Regions from separate parts of the Homo sapiens genome. Here regions 1 and 2 are each linked to region 3. Evidence: promoter capture Hi-C in 16 types of primary human blood cells and fetal thymus (Javierre and others, 2016). All regions are on one chromosome and are shown on one strand. The core of a region is centred on a gene start or on the middle of the fragment in contact, and the rest is flanking DNA. Distances in the headings are between cores, read along the strand shown.

Region 1 (3,262 bases), core at 650-3,149, 230 kb after region 3:
TTAAGCTTAGTTTAATTAAAAACCTGGAGTTCTTTATTAGACTTGGTAATTGATTTAATTTTCTGTGGAATTCAAGTGCCAAACACCTCTTTTGTGTGAGCTTGTGAATTTTGGCAGGTGGAGTCGGACAGCCAAAAAGGAAAATCCCTCCTCCGCTGGGTGAGGTTTGTCTCACAGCAGCACGGGCAGAATCCTCTGCTGACCCACCCTCCTCTCCCCTCGCTTCCCCTCCTCTCCCCTCCCTCCCCCTCCCTCCCCCTCCCTTCCCCTTCCCTCCTCTCCCCTCCCCAAAACCTCCCTTCCCTAGGCCAAGGGTTTTTCGCCATGGGGAAAGGCCGCCCTTGCTACTGGGTGGGGTTTCTGGAAATCCCACAGTGGCTCGGGTCTCTGCTGGTCCCCGGGCTGGCGGTGGAGAGGGGTTTCCTTAGGTGATCCCAGGGGGCCTCTGGATGGGGAGGAGGATGTGGGGTGCAGGGAATCCATTTTGTGGGTTATTTTTGGAAAGTTTGGTCCTTCCTGGACAGTTTCAGCCCTGCCTTGCTCCTGAGGGAGCTGTAGTCCTGATGGCAGGTGGTCTCACCCAGTGGTGCCTCACATGTCCCCAGCCAGGTCCCTAGAGTACAGAGCACCACGCGGTGGCTGCACTGGAGCTTGATGGCTCCCGGGAAGGAGCGGGACACAAGAAAGGCAGTGGGGTGTTTGCACACAGGAAACCCTTCACTCACCTGTCTCCCAGGAACGCCAGCGCCCTCTGCAGGACATGTGAGCCTCCAAGTCACCTCGAGATTAAAGCCCCCCAAGCATCTGGAACAGCAGCTCCGGCGACAGCCCTTCATTACTGAAAGCCTCAGAAGGACACAAGCCCTCCTGTCCAGTATGCAGTGGTGACCTTTGACTCTTGGCTGCTCCCAGGGCGGGAGAATACCTTCTGTAGAAGGAAATTTCTCTTTCCTAATTGGAATAGATCATAAAAGCAGGGATTTTTTTAATTATTTATTATTTATTTTTTTTTTGAGATGGAGTTTCGCTCTTGTTGCCCAGGCTGGAGTGCAATGGCACGATCTTGGCTCACTGCAACCTCCACCTCCCAGGTCCAAGCAATTCTCCTGCCTCAGCCCCCTGAGTAGCTGGGATTACAGGCACCCGCCATCATGCCTGGCTAATTTTTGCATTTTTGTAGACACGGGGTTTCTCCATGTTGGTCAGGCTGGTCTCGAACTCCTGACCTCAGGTGATCCGCCCACCTTGGCCTCCCAAAGTGCTGGGATTACAGGCGTGAGCCACTGCACCCAGCCACAAACAGCTTTTAAAAATAGAGGCTGGTGGCGGGGCACAGGGGCTCCTGCTTGTGATCCCAGCACTTTGGGAAGACGAGGGGGGACTGATTGAAGCCTGGAGTTGGAGACCAGCCTGGGCAACATAGCGAGACTCCATCTCTACAAAAAATAATGTAAAAAAAATTAGCCAGTTGTGGTGGTGCGTGCCTGTAGTCCTAGCTACTCAGGAGGCTGAGGTGGGAGAATCATTTGAACCCAGTAGTTCAAGCCTGTGGTGAGCTGTGATCACACCACTGTACTCTAGCCTGGATGACAGAGTGAGACTCTATCTCTTACCAAAAAAAAAAAAAAAAAAAAATCAATCAATCAATCAATAGAATAGAGGTAAGGGCTGAGTGCGGTGGCTCACACCTGTAATCCCAGCACTTTGGGAGGCTGAGGCGGGTGGATCACCTGAGGTCAGGAGTTCAAGACCAGCCTGGCCAACATGGTGAAAGCCCGTCTCTACTAAAAATACAAAAATGAGCTGGGCATAGTGGTGCATGCCTGTAGTTCCAGCTACTCAGAAGGCTGAGTCAGGAGAATTGCTTGAACCTGGGAGGCAGAGGTTGCAGTGAGCTGAGATCGAGCCACTGCACTCCAGCCTGGGTGACAGAGCAAGACTTGACTAAAAATTAAAATAGAATAGAATAGAATAGAATAGAATAGAATAGAATAGAATAGAATAGAATGGAATAATGGTTGAGCTTTGCGAAAACACTCTGGTGGTTCTTCAGACTCTGAAGCACAGTTACCATGTGACCAAGCAATCCAATTCCTGGGTTCAAACCCAAAAAAATGAAAGCAGGCACCTGCAAGAACTTGCACAGGAATGTCCACAGCAGCGTTACTCACAAAAGCCAAAATGTGGAAACAGCCCCAAGGCCCATGGATGGGTGAGTGGATAAACAATAGATCTATTGAGGGAACTGTGATGTGGGCCTAAAAAAAAAAGGAATGAGTGGCGTGATCTCGGCTCACTGCAGCCTCGAACTCCTGGGCTTATGTGTCCCTCCCACCTCAGCCTCAAGTAGCTGAGACTACAGGTGCACACCACCATGCCCAGCTTATTTATTATTTATTTATTTTTTGAGACAGAGTCTCACTCTGTCACCCAGACGGGAATGCAGTGGCACGAACTCAGCTGACTGTACCCTCCGCCTCCCAGCTTCAAGTGATTCTCGTGCCTCAGCCTCCCGAGTAGCTGGGATTACAGGTGTGCACCACCAGGCCCGGCTAATTTTTGTATTTTTTAGTAGAGGCGGGGTTTAACCATGTTGGCCAGGCTGGTCTCGAACTCCTGGCCTCAAGTCATCCACCTGCCCCGACCTCCCAAAGTGCTGGAATTACAGGGTGAGCCATTGTGGCCAGCCTAATTTATTTATTTTTGTAGAGACCGGGTCTCACTGTGTTGCCCAGGCTAGTCTCAAACTCCTGGGCTCAAGCGATCCTCTGGCCTCGGCCTCCCAAAGCGTTGGCATTACAGGCATGAGCCACTGCACCCAGCCAAATGTTCGAACAGATATCTGGGAACCCAGCAGCCAAGTCAAGTTGACACATGAAATTAACCATCACTCCATCCTCACGATTCTGAACCGCACGCCTCAGTGGCATTAAGTGCATTCACGTTGCTGTGCAAACAACATCTTCCTCCATCGACACAGCTTTCCCTCTTTCCAAACTGAAGCTCTGTTCCCACCCCCTCCCCCCGCCCCTGGCGTACACGCCTCTGCTGTCTGTCTCCAGGGCCTCTCGGAGGAGGAATCAGGCAGGCCTTGCCTTTTCATGGCTGGCTGCTTTCCCTGAGCACAACATCCTCCAGGCACGTCCCCATCGTAGCTCGTGCCAGAATTTCCTGGGGTTTCTTTCTGAAGTGAAGAAAATGTTCCAAAATTGACTGTGTTGATAGTTGCACACATCCGTGAGTATACAGAAAGCCATTGAAT
Region 2 (3,354 bases), core at 367-2,866, 210 kb after region 3:
GGGGATGGGCGAAGGGAAGGCGCTGGCCGACCCCACCCATGGAGAGAACACAGCCACAGGCCGGGACGATACATCAAGCTCGCACCCACGGCCCTCACATGTCCACGAAGACCATGAAGCACCAGCCCAGGCCCCCGACCAGCAGCATGGTGACGTGGATGCCATAGACGAGCAGCTCGTTCACCAGGCGGAAGTCCACGCGCCGGCGGCCCAGCAGCAGCAGCAGCACCGACAGCTTGCGCTGGAAGCGCAGCAGGACGCGAACGCCCAGGTACTGTAGGCAGAAGAGGGCGGCCAGCGCACCCCAGAGCGCCGCAGTGAACAGGCTGCAGCTAAAGTAGAGTAGGAAGCGGATGAAGCCGTACAGCCAGCGCGTCTTGATGTACACGTCGAAGTTGTTGTACTTGGTGCGGGCCAGGTGGGAGGCGCGCACGGGCCCGCAGGCCGCATGCAGGCAGGTGGTGTGCGGGCCGTGGAAGGAGCGCACCCGCCGCGGAATGGGCATGACCGGCATTGGGCCCCGGCGGCGGCGGCGCTAGGTCGCAGTGGCGGCGGCGGTGTCCAGGCGGCTGTTGGCGTAGGGGTCATGGGCGCCTAGGCCTGGGAGCCCGCAGCTGACCCTGGGGGGAGGCGTCGGCCTGCGGGGAGAGCCGCAAAACCCACGTCAGTATGAGGACACCATGCGGATCCCTCCCCAGGCAATCAGCTGGCGAAAGTGGACACAAACTCCAGCACCAGGACTACGGGAAAATGGAGTCCAGGGCGGGATCTGCAGGCACTCCTGGGCTCTTTTCCACAAACCCTCCCAAGGATACTTCCAAGGGGCCCACCACCTGGGGAAGCCAAAGTGCTTGTTCTAGGGCAGCACTGGGGAAAGGGGGCCTTGGGGACAGTGGCCAGGGGAGGCCCCCGGAAGTGGTCAATGCCAAAACGGATGGGAAGGGGCAAGAGTGGCTCTTTCCTGCAGGATCCTCGCAGCTCCCCACTAGCTGGACCACACTCTGCTCTTAGGCAGTTTGCCCGTTACTGCCCTGGTCTTCTGCGGCTGCCTGACCCAGGGCTGATGCAAGCCCTTAAATGGCATCTGCAAGAAGCCACCACAGGGCCGGGAAAAGGGACTCCAGGGCTCGCAGGTGAACCGAAAACGAGCCCGGCGGGAGCAGGTGACTCCAGCAACCTGCTGGGTGCCAGATGGACGGCTCGGGGGCCGTGGGGTCACCTTGCTGGGCCTGAACCCTGGCACTGTCCTTCCCTAGCAGTGACTTTGGGCAGGTCACCTGACCCCAAGACGGCTCCTGCTCTGTCCAATGGGGGTGCCAATAGCACTGCCTTTGTGGGTAGCTGTGGGAGGGAAGGGGCTGGGCCTGGCGTGCACAGTGGGGTCGGCCCGGGGCCTGGCAGCGGCCCTTACAGACTGGGCTGCAAAGAGCAGAGGCGGCATTTGGCTCTCCAGCTTCACCTAGTAAAGGCCGTTTATACCTTGCCGAAATAATCTGTAGACGGAATGAACTCAAAGGTCAGGAAATAAAATCTGAGCAGGAAAGTTGGTAACATTACAGGGGACTGTTGCCAAGAGCTTCGCCTGCCTTCAGATTCAGCCTGGGGCCCTGCCGTGGGGACCTGGCCAGGGCGGAGGAGGGAGGGGCCGGGGCCGCCTGACCCTCCCGTGCCCGCAGGGGCCCGACCTCGCCCTCTCCCTCCGCCCGGCTCCTCCACGGGGTGCAGGGGCCAGAGCGGCCCTATTTAAGGCCGGCCTTGGCCTGGAGCTCGCCCCGGCCGGGACCCCGGCCATGGCGGTGCCACTCAAACGCGACTCGGCGGAGCTGTGTCCCCGCAGGGTCTCGCGGCCCGCGGCTCCATCCGGGTCCCTGCGTTTCTGCAGACGCCCGCTCGGCCCGGCCCATGGACCCAGGACTGTTTCCTCGGGGCCGCAGAGACGCAACGGGCCCCGGCCAACTCCGCGTGAGCACCGGGCCTGCGCCGCGCCGCGCCGGGCCCCCTGGCTGCAGAGCCCCTGCCGGAGCCACTTCCGGGTCCCGCGCCGCGCGTTGCCCTGGAGACGGCCCCCGCCTAGGCCGGGTCCCCGACCGCAGCTCACCCGGTGCCCTCTCCGCGGCGGCGCCGGCGTCCCGGACCTCGGGGCCGGCCGGCGGTGCTAGGGGCCGGGCCTGCGGGTGCCCCTGTCCCTCGGGGCTCCGTGCGCAGGGCGGCCGCATGGTGCTGGGGCGCGCGGCTGGGGGCGCTGGCAAGGCGGCTGAGGGCGTGGTTCACGCGTCGCCGGCTGGGGTCGCCCTGCAGGTGAAGGGGCTCTCGGGCGCGGCCGCCGGAGGCGTTTGGCCTAGCGTGGGAGCCGTAGCGCCGTCCCTCGACGGCCACCGTAGGGCGGCCTCACGCCCCCTCCACCCGCGCCGACCGAGCCGCACTTCCCTTCCCCCTGCTCCGGGCCCGCGCTGGGCGTCCCGGACTCGTCGCTTCCCGAGGGCGTGCGTGCGTGCGTGCGTGCGCACGCTGCGAGCAGTCCGTAGCGTTCCCTCCCCCGAACGCCCTCGGTGCCGCGCCTGGTCTTCTGCGCCTGCGCTTGCCGTTCCTGGGCCGCGCCTCCGCGCACGCGCTACCGCATCCCGTGGAGAGGCAGTGCGCAGGCGCGCTTCCGTGGAGCAGTCCTTTGGCCCCAGCAGAGGGCTTGACCGTGGTCCTGGCCCCGGACTGAGGTGTCTGCGACCCGGCGCGCTGCTGCCGTCGCTGGGGTGGGGCCGGGCCCCGGAGGAAGCCGCTTTCCCGGCGGGGGTGGGCGGCCCAGGGACCGGGAGCAGGTCTGGTCCTCGCGGGGCCGTGTGCGAAGGCCTCCTGCGCGGCCTGGGGCTGGGAGGACAGGGCGGCGGCGGGAATGAGGGCGCCCCCCAGGCTCCAGGAGGGCGGGGAAGGGTGGGGGCGGCTGACGCCACGCGGACCCGGGCGGCACGGATCGGGTGTGTAGCTGCGAGGCCCGGTGGGCCGGCGGCGACGTCGGCAGCCGAAGTAGGGACAGCCCCGGAGCACGAGCAGGCCCAGCAGCAGCCCCAGGGCCGCCCCCCCGCCGCCCCCCAGTGAAGGAAGGGGACTTGTGTTAGTGTCCTCACGCCTGGTTCGTACAGGCTGGCGGTTGTCCTGGGGGTTTCCAGCGAGGAATGTGTTGGGGAGCGCTCCTGGGTGTGGCTGCTGGGTAGGAGGGGAAGGCAGGGTCAGCAGCCCCTGGGGCGACCGTAAAGTGGGTGGCCCTTCAAATTCAAGGCACTGGAACAAGGGGGCTGGGCCCTCCTGCCCACCAGGCCCGTCATTGGCTGCAGGCCTCCCGGGACGGCGAGCTGGCTCCTG
Region 3 (3,298 bases), core at 600-3,099:
AAAACTAGTTCGTGGTGTAAGCACATGCGGCAAAATACAAAGAAAAGCAAAACAGTGACTAACACAAGGTGTGAGGCAGGTGAGCCCACGCAGCCGGCAGTGACTGCAAGATACCCAGGCGTCCGCTCTCGGGCTGTTCTTTGCACCTGACTCAAGTTTCATACCTACATCTTACCAATTCCGTTCTCAAAAACTCATGTGAAGTCTTGGATGTAGCAGTGTTTCTTCCTCATTACAACACAGAAACTAAGGTTCCACTGAGCCAGTAAACAAGAACTGTAAAACTGAAAACTGTCAAAGGAAAAACTCTTTCCCAATTACTACTTACACAGTACAAAAACCAGTTTGAAATAAGGCGAGTTATTTAATCCCTAAAACTTACAAAACGCGTTTGTCCTTATGACTAACTCGAGTCTAGCTGGGGCACAGGCCACTGTCAAACAGGGCAACGCCTACTCAGCGTTTTCCAAACTGGTCAACTGAACTCTTCTCTGGAAGGGCTGTCTCCTTTAGTCTTACTCTAAAAAGGGTAATTTTTCACCAGAATAAAGGCAAATATTTTAAGAATGCTTCAAATGAAAAGAGGATTGCAGAAATATTAACCTTTAATTGTACCTGAAACAAAGCACCTGAAATTAATAAAGAAGTCAGCCACTGACGAGAATCACTAGGTCTGTCCTGTTCCCAGGGCACGAAACAGAAGCGTCTTAATCCACTAAGCACATTAGGGCCTAACAAACTGGACTGAGTAACAAGGTTACCTAGTTCTTCCAAACAGGAATTAACCAAAGGGGATCATTATGATTAAGCACAATGCGCGGAATACGCAATTTCTAGTTGGGGAATTCAACAGCTGACAGCTTGTAAGCATCAAAATTCATAACAAGTGCAAGGCTCGGAATCACAGGTCCAGCACTGGACGATGCCCGGCGCGCCGGGAAGCGGCGCCTCAGACGGCGGCCCCGCGTCCCCATGGTCCCTCCCTGCGCCCAGAACCGGGCAGCTCCTTCCCGCCGCCGCCGCCGCCAACGGGAGGCTGGGGGCACTCCCGAAATAGGAGCGGAAGCCCCGACCCACGCCGCCCTCCGCCGCAGGGACGCCCACTCGCCAGGTGACCGCGTCCCCACGCTCCGCGTTGCCCGGGCGCCGCCAGGACCTCGGAGGCGGCCGGCCCAGCCCCGACCCTGTGCGGACGCGGCACAAAGGCGCGGCGCGCGGACCCCGACCCGGCCGGACCCCGGCCGCGTCCCCCGGCCCCGGCCCGCGCCCCTGGCCCCCGCCCCGCGCCCCTCACCCGGCCCACCTCGGCCGTAGGCCTTGGCGCAGATCCACTGCAGGTTGGCGGCGATCTTGGCGCGCGCCGCGTCGTAGCGGTCCAGGGGCACGAGGTCGGCGGCGCCGTCCGGCGGGGCCTCCATCTTCCTCCAGCCCTCGGCGGCGGCGCGGCCGCTCGCGTCCACCATCTGCAGACAAAGGGCTGAGGCGGCGGCCCGGCCGCAACAAAGGCGCCGCCGCCCCTCGCCGCGCCGGGCCCGGTGCGCCCCGAGCCACCACTCGGCCCCGCAGCCGGCCAGCCGGGAGGGGCGCCCGAGCGCGGCCCCCGCCTCACCTCACAGCCGCCGCCGTCGCCGCCCCCGCGGCTGCTGCATGCTGCGGGCGCTGAGCCCGAGCGGAGGAGGTGCCGAGCCCGCGGCCCAAAGAGGCGGCGGCAGGAGGGCGCGGGCCGGGGGCGGGGGCGGGCGCGGGGGCGGGAGCGGGCCGGGGGCGGTGGCAGCGCGTGCGCGGTCCCGGGTGAGCGGCGGCGGCGGCGACAGCGGCTGAGGCGGTGGCCAAGGAGCGGGAGCGCGCTCACCGCCGGGGCCTCGCACAGGCGCAGTAGGCACCGCCCGCCACCCCGCCCTCGACCCCGCCCCCAGCTCCGCTCCCTTCTCGCGCCTGCCCCGCCCCTTTCCGCAGGCGCAGTAGGCACCGCCCGCCAGCCCGCGCCCGCCCCGCCCCTTTCCGCAGGCGCAGTAGGTGGCACCCGCAGGCCTGTGCCTGCCCCGCCCCTTTCCGCAGGCGCAGTGAGCGTCGACCCGCCCCTCCCCGCCCGCTTCCGCAGGCGCAGTAGGACCCGCCCTGGTCCGCGCCTGCCCCGTTGCTTTCCTCAGGCTCTAAGGCCCGCGGTGTGGAGCGCGGCGTAGGCAGCGGGGAGTGGGCGGCGCGGGGTGGGTGGAGTGGGTCGGCGGCGGGGATCCTGCCGAGCCCGCAGCTGCCCTCTTTTAGCGCCGTGTCTCCTCCCCGGCCCTGGCTCGTCCCACCTCAGCCACAGCCCGGCCCCCTGGCCGGCCGAGGTCTCGCCGCCGGCGCCCTGGGGACCTCGTGGGTGTGGCCGGCGGCGACCTCGGCAGGCGACAGCCCAGCAGACGGGCACCAGGTGGACGTGCCAGTCTCCAGACCCCCGTCCCGGTGCAGGGAAGGTGGGCGTTTGGACCCCTGAGGCAGAAACAGGTGCGGCCCCGCCGGCGCATCCCCCGGAAGGGACGCTGACTTCGTTCCCCTGGAGCCTGCGTCGGGGCCCGCGCTGGGCTGAGAATTACGGGAACGCCGTGAGAGTTTGCATTCCGAGGATTTGGTCTGAGAACCTCACCAGCGAAATAGAGAACTGCCCCCGGGAGAGCCGGCCCACGTGCCGCCCACCGGCGCCTTGACGGCAGGGAGAGGTCGAGCTTCCAGGGAGCGGGCGCCCGGCGCGGGGCTCCCAGCCTGTCTGTACCTGGTCGAGACACCCCGTGCCAGAGGCGGAACATGTATGAAATGCCAGGTGCCCAGAGGACCCAGGCAGTCCGTCATTCACATACCAACCCACGTGCAGGCTTCAATTCAACCTTGAAGCCATTTGGGCCTGGGCTTTTTTGATGACTTATTTGATTCATAGTTTTTTGGTTACTAATTGAGTCTCTTCACTTGTTATAGGTCTGTTGAGATTGTCTATTTTTTCTTGAGTCAGCCGTCTGAAAAGAACACGAGGTGGACAGGGCAGAGCGGTCAAGGAAAGCCATAGGAGGAGGGCACTTATTTGAGCAAAGACCGGCGGGACGTGGGCGTCGAGGGTAAGGATATCTGCAGAAGTACTGTCTTGAGCAAGGAGCACGGCAGACAGAGCCTCTGAGACACGAGAGCCTGGAGTGTAAGAAACACAGTAGAGGCCACTAAGTCGAGAACGCAGGAGCTGGAAGGACTGGTAGGAAATGGGAGGTGGGGACATGGAGGGATGCAGACAGGTCCTGCACAGTCAGAACTGTGGCCCCTTCTCTGC

Evidence for each region. The method cuts DNA at HindIII sites, captures the fragments that hold promoters and counts their contacts. A CHiCAGO score of 5 or more calls a contact.
Region 1: a fragment that was not itself captured here is called in contact with the fragment with the promoter of CAMSAP1 in region 3 in 1 of 17 cell types (neutrophils); the score reaches 5.1 in neutrophils.
Region 2: a fragment that was not itself captured here is called in contact with the fragment with the promoter of CAMSAP1 in region 3 in 10 of 17 cell types (naive CD8 T cells, neutrophils, naive B cells and 7 more); the score reaches 9.3 in naive CD8 T cells.

The regions. Positions count from the first base shown.
Region 1 is chr9:136,138,059-136,141,320 of GRCh38, forward strand. No RefSeq gene overlaps it. Among named protein-coding and RNA genes, the nearest start is that of TMEM250, 21 kb to the left of the region's middle. The HindIII fragment of the contact is 3,792 bases long and covers 4-3,262 here.
Region 2 is chr9:136,116,387-136,119,740 of GRCh38, forward strand. It overlaps TMEM250 (transmembrane protein 250), which reads right to left and starts at 2,489. Exons shown (of 2, transcript NM_152833.3): 1 at 2,099-2,489; 2 at 1-638. The coding sequence starts at 514. The coding sequence ends at 95. It overlaps LOC107987142 (a long non-coding RNA gene), which reads left to right and starts at 1,406. Exons shown (of 2, transcript NR_165242.1): 1 at 1,406-1,516. RefSeq lists enhancers at 435-1,010, 1,011-1,586, 2,740-3,316, 3,317-3,354 and silencers at 1,603-2,652, 2,683-3,072. The HindIII fragment of the contact is 6,377 bases long and covers 1-3,354 here.
Region 3 is chr9:135,905,697-135,908,994 of GRCh38, forward strand. It overlaps CAMSAP1 (calmodulin regulated spectrin associated protein 1), which reads right to left and starts at 1,850. Exons shown (of 17, transcript NM_015447.4): 1 at 1,304-1,850. The coding sequence starts at 1,463. It overlaps CAMSAP1-DT (CAMSAP1 divergent transcript), which reads left to right and starts at 2,137. Exons shown (of 2, transcript XR_007061860.1): 1 at 2,137-3,223. RefSeq lists an enhancer at 1-342 and silencers at 989-1,038, 1,439-1,508, 1,589-1,698, 1,739-2,418. The HindIII fragment of the contact is 15,122 bases long and covers 1-3,298 here.